Regions from separate parts of the Homo sapiens genome. Here region 2 is linked to region 1. The links are contacts of gene promoters, found by promoter capture Hi-C in blood cells and fetal thymus (Javierre and others, 2016). All regions are on one chromosome and are shown on one strand. Each heading gives the region's core, a stretch centred on a gene start or on the middle of the fragment in contact. The rest is flanking DNA. Distances are from core to core; before and after follow the strand shown. Region 1 holds the start of TICAM2 (TIR domain containing adaptor molecule 2). Region 2 has its middle 80 kb from the start of TRIM36.

What was found. The method cuts DNA at HindIII sites, captures the fragments that hold promoters and counts their contacts. A CHiCAGO score of 5 or more calls a contact.
Region 2: a fragment that was not itself captured here is called in contact with the fragment with the promoter of TICAM2 in region 1 in 2 of 17 cell types (naive B cells and monocytes); the score reaches 6.5 in naive B cells.

The regions. Positions count from the first base shown.
Region 1 is chr5:115,601,197-115,603,896 of GRCh38, reverse strand. It overlaps TICAM2 (TIR domain containing adaptor molecule 2), which reads left to right and starts at 1,418. Exons shown (of 2, transcript NM_021649.7): 1 at 1,418-1,800. The region is part of intron 3 of TMED7-TICAM2 (TMED7-TICAM2 readthrough); the gene reads left to right. TICAM2-AS1 (TICAM2 antisense RNA 1) reads right to left here and starts at 1,742. Exons shown (of 3, transcript NR_109875.1): 1 at 1,437-1,742; 2 at 741-851. RefSeq lists a silencer at 1,427-1,926 and enhancers at 1,546-2,068, 2,017-2,096. The HindIII fragment of the contact is 4,479 bases long and covers 1-2,589 here.
Region 2 is chr5:115,088,689-115,091,388 of GRCh38, reverse strand. No RefSeq gene overlaps it. Among named protein-coding and RNA genes, the nearest start is that of TRIM36, 80 kb to the left of the region's middle. RefSeq lists enhancers at 1-365, 366-865. The HindIII fragment of the contact is 2,106 bases long and covers 209-2,314 here.

The DNA.
Region 1 (2,700 bases), core at 169-2,668:
TGGTATTTCAGTGGGAAAATGTGAAAAGCTCTGATTTTGAAGGGTTGCCAGAGAAAGAGGAACAGGCAGAGGAAACTGAAAGAAGAATTTTTTTTTTTTTTTTTTTTTTTTGAGACGGAGTCTCACTCTGTGGCCCAGGCTGGAGTGCAGTGGCGCGATCTCGGCTCACTGCAAGCTCCGCCTCCCGGGTTCAAGCCATTCTCCTGCCTCACCCTCCCAAGTAGCTGGGACTACAGGCAGCTGCCACCACTCCCGGCTAATTTTTTGTATTTTTTAGTAGAGACGGGGTTTCACCGTGTTAGCCAGGATGGTCTCGATCTCCTGACCTCGTGATTCACCCGCCTCGGCCTCCCAACAGGCCTGAAAGAATTTTAACAAGCAGGATGAGCATAAAGGCAAAGTGGGGTTGTCAACATCAAGGAAACAGAGTGTTGGGAAACAATGGTCGACTTTGTCAATCGCCAAAGAGACTCCCAGGAAAAATGAGGGCAACAAAAGTATCAGTTGGATTTAGGAGGCCACTGCTTACCCAAAGAGTTCAGGTAGAATTGTTGGGAGGTGCAGTGGTTGGAGAATCAACTCCGTGAATAATGAATTGTGTTGACACGGTACATAATACGGTATTTCTGACTACATTGGCGGCATTTCACTAAGTAATTACTACCTGAAGTGCCTACCTTCAGTAAGGCATCCTGTTGTTGGATGGGGAAAGAGAAGGAGGAAATAACTCTTAGCTTTACCTGTACTGTGCTTCTGAGACCCAGGTATGGACCTTCACTCCCAATTTACTATCCATGGTCTCATCCGATGTTCAGTAACTGGGTTCTCCTTTGGCAGGGAGTAGGGATTGCCTGAGAATTAAAAGGGGAGGGGAGATTTCTGAACTGGACCTCTTAGGTTATGACTAGATTGGGTGCCTGAGGCAGCAATGGGGCTTTATAAGGCTTCTTTACGCTTCATTTAACTAATTGCTTTTTTGTTCTCTCTTATTCAGTGGAGTTCCAATCTGTTCGGTTGTGGAGAACGAACCTGAGAAAAAGGATCTTTCGCAGGGTAGTTTTTGGGGGCAGAGGCTGATGTGCTGCACCCCCTAATCAGGGGTATGGTTGGCTGCAGTAGTCAAGTGAGAGGGCCGCAAAGGGAAAGGAAAAGTCGAGACTATCTTAGGGAACCAGGAGAGTCGCTGTACCTCTGAAAGATCTACGGTTTGTCTGGTCTGTAAGGAGCAAACACGGTGGAATTCCTTTCCAGATTTTTCTGGGCCTCGACCTCTGGCTTTTGGGGTACATGCCAAAAAAAAAAAAAAAAAAAAAAGCGCAGGGAGAGTCCACTAGCCTCGGTGACAGTTCCCCATTGCGGTTTCCCCTCCTCCACCCTTCTTTGCGAGCTCCTTCCCTCTGCAGAGAGTTATCCCGCCACATTAACCCCTGACTCACAGCTGGACCGCCCCGGCCCGCAGCGCCACGTCCCGGGTGGGGCCTGCCACGGCAAAGCAGCAGTCCGGCCTCGAGCGGCCCCTCGGGGGCGGCGGGGTGGGCGCCAACAGCAGTCAGGCCTGACAAGCGGCGACCTCCAAGGGTGAGGCCTCTGCGGGCCCCCGACTCACGCGCGTCCGGGCTCTGCAAGCGCGGTGGGGAGCAGGCTGCTGTGGTCGCGGGGACTGGGTTGCGGCGCGCCGCGTACGGGACGGCCCCAAACTCTCGACGCCCGGGGCAAGACGCCCACCCCCTGGGCGCTCTCGCTGGGCCAGAAAGGAAGACAGAAAAGCCGCGGGCTGACTGTGGTGGCGCTCGCCTGCAGGCAAGTACCGGGCGCTAGGGCGGGGGCCGCCGCCGGGGGCGCGGGGTGGGCTGGGGCCAGGCCGCCAGGGGCGCGGGGTGGTCTGGGGGCCAGGCCGCCTGCGCTACCTCCCCAGCCTACCCGACCCGACGGCGCGGGTGCTGGCGCTGTTGTCCCCAGCGGGGCGGGCAGGCCTTTCCGTCACTTGGCTTACTCTGAAGGGAAAATCCACACAGCTGTCTGCCTTTTTGTTTCATTTTGACTAGAAAACCCATTTTCGAAAAGACACCTCAGAACCATAAGCAAATAGCCCAGAGTCTTAAATGCTCTAAAGGCTCTGCATGAGCCCCTGCCAGGCACACAGAGCCAGTGCTGGAGGTTTTGGCATGGGTTTTCCTACTTGGCTTTTTGTGCAAAGCTAATTTGGATAAAAATAATTTGACTGGCAGCTGTGAGCTAGTTTTCAGTGTATTAGGACCTCTCCAGCTTTCCACGGTAGTAAACTTCTTAAAGAAAGTATTTTAAAATATTCTCATATTTATTATTATTTTTTAATTTATCCTTTTAATTTTGAAAAGCAAGGGTGGGAAAGGCTATATGATCTGGAGGTAAAAATACACCATTATATAGAGTTGAAGTGTCATCCCCTGAACCCACATTGCACGTCTACACAGGAGAAGAACTTGTCCTTCTCCAAGTGTTTAGTATTCCTTAGATTAGTGTTTTTCAAACAAGCCTGATGGTAAGACGCATTTGGGACTTTTGTTTAAAATGCATCCCCCCACCTCTGAAGGTTTAATTTGGTAAGCTTGATTTCCAGAATCTGTATTTCTATTTTTTTATTGTTTAATTTAATTTTATGTTCTGGGATACATGTGCAGGACTTGCAGGTTTGTTACATAGATAAACGTGTGCCATGGT
Region 2 (2,700 bases), core at 12-2,511, 510 kb after region 1:
CTCAGGAAAAAAAAAAAAAATTTGTGATCTTGCCTTCTAAACTATGGAGATACCCCCAGAAAGTAATGAGAATGACCTGAATATCTGGTTTGCTGGGAGGTGGTTTAGAAGGAGGGAGAACCTCATCTGCTTAGAAAGCTCCTTTCAAAGCAGTATTACAAAGCAATTCTTTTTCTGAGGTATTCAGCATCTGGTGGCTTTGCAAGCTTTTAGCTTTTTATTTTATTTTCTCAGAAAAATATTTGTGCTTTTCTTGAGCTGCTGATTCACCTGTGACCAACTCTTTTTGTTGTGAAAACCCAGCAAGATATGCAAATGCAGAGGGCAGGCATGGCTGCAGGGAAGTTGGAAGCCCACCGCTGGGGCAATTATTCATCTTGGGGGAAACTCCTTTGAAATGGTGCATTTGTGGCCAGGTGCGGTGGCTCAAGTTGGGAGGCTGAGGCAGGTGGATAACCAGAGGTCAGGAGTTCCAGACCAGCCTGGCCAACATGGTGAAACCCCGTCTCTACTAAAAATACAAAAATTAGCCAGGCATGGTCGTGGGCCCCTGTAATCCTGGCTACTTGGGAGGCTGAGGCAGGAGAATTGCTTGAACCTGTGAGGAGGAGGTTGCAGTGAGCTGAGCCAGTACCATCGCACTCCACCCTGGGCAACAGAGCAAATATCTGTCACAACAACAATAACAACAACAACAACAACAACAACAACAACAAAGGTGCATTTGTGAAATTCTGAAGAAGCCCTGAAGGCTGAGGCAGTGAGTGGGAGGATATCTGCTAAGAAGTCGATGTCTGCAACCCTGTGTCTTTGCCAGTACCTTCTAAGCCAGCAAGTTACACCTTAGCGAGCACCTGCTCTAGAATCTATGCAGGTTTCCTTGTCAGTTCTCTCCCTTTCAGATGTCCCTGTGTGATGTGTGTGCCTGGGAGATATGTTGACCTTGGTACAACTAGAATGGTTAGAAATGTGTATTTGCCTCCTCCCAGGTTTCCCCTTTTTAGGGTTCTCACCTCATTTTCTAGTCTCAATTCTCTTTCCACTGGGGCCTTGAAAGGGTGATAGTTGGAAATGACTTTAGGCTGATATCCTTGTCCTTATTAGCATAAGAAACCAAAGGCGTTTGAGATCTTAACGAATTAAATTTCAAAGGCTGAATTTCAGAGGAGGAAATGAGAGGAATTATCTCCACTGGAGCCTTTCTAGGGCCCCTCAAATTACAGTATTGGTAGCTATCTCCCTCTGTGTAGCTATCAGTCCTTGAGAAATGCAAGGTATTGAATTGATTTCCTTTGCTCTTAGTTCAATCTGTTTTTGTTGTTTTTATTTTTATCATAATAATGCTTTCATATTATATTTTGTGATTACTTCTGAGCTTACCACAAAACAAAAACCATACAAACATTATAAAATTGTCAAAACATTAGCTTTATTAAAGACAGAGCTGTTATTGAATGATTCTCCTATTATTTATTTCCCCTGTAGCTTGCTAGATCTTTGTTAACTTTCAGGAAGCCCCAGAACACAGGGTTATAAGTTGTTCTATATTTTAAATGTGCCAGTTCAGCCCCAATATAACACTTTCCTTTCCTCATTTTGCTCAGTGTGAAAACATGGAAATGAAGCCATGCTTTTCCTGGATTTCTCTAGTTTCTAGCAGTTCTACTGTCACTGACAAATGCTGACTTCTTTTTACCAGTAGACTATTTAAATTTTCCTCCTAAGTCAGCATAGAGTTCCAGATATCTACTGAGAGCTGACAATCCTGTTCAGGGCAAATATGTTGGTGAAACTGATGAATAAAGATTATTCACCATCTGTCTTCTTTTTTTATTTATTAAGGATATTAACCCTTTGCCATATATATTGCAAGATTTTTTTCCCCCAGTTTCTTGTTTAGCTCTTGAGTTTTTCTTTTTTTGAGATTAAGGTGTCCCTGTGTTGCCCAGGCTGGTCTCTTATCTCCTGGGCTCAAGTGATCCTCCTGCCTCAGCATCCCAAATAGCTGGGATTACAGGAGCACACCACCACACCCAGCTCTGACTTTCTTTTTTGTAGTATAGTTTCCCCCCAAATGCTTTATACTTTTATATGGTAAATAATTAAATCTTTTTCATTTATGGTCTGGCCATTGGCATATGCTAATCTGTTTTTTCTCAGTAAAAGGAAAATTTCCAATGCCAGAGGCCATATAGGTCATTCTTATGGCTTAGTCACTTTCAGTCCCCCTGGACTCAGAAGACAGGTTATACTTAATTGTAGTTTGTGGGGTACAGGGTTTTGCTACTGAATATCCAAACCTGTAAGTCAAGCTTTTCTTCCAAACCAGGATTAATTTATGAGCATTGCATATTGCTAGTCTGGCTTCTCCAATCTAGGCTTTCTACAGCCACAGCCAGAATCAACTGAGCTTTCCCATCCTTTGTGAGTAAATGAGCAGCTTTGGGGAAAATAATTGGCAGTACTGAGGATGGTGGTGATCTTGCTGCAACCAGCAGATCTGTGACTGCTGAGAACAATGCTGCGCACAAAAGTCCAAACATAACAGGGAGTAATGTCACGCTTATCTCACTTGAACCCTGGGCACTTTAACACTCTAATTTCTCCCTCCTTAAAAAATGTTTTTCCTCAGCCCCAACAAGTGATGATCATCCCTGTATATTTCCATCCCAAGGATCTGTTTTTACTTACTTGTGGTTG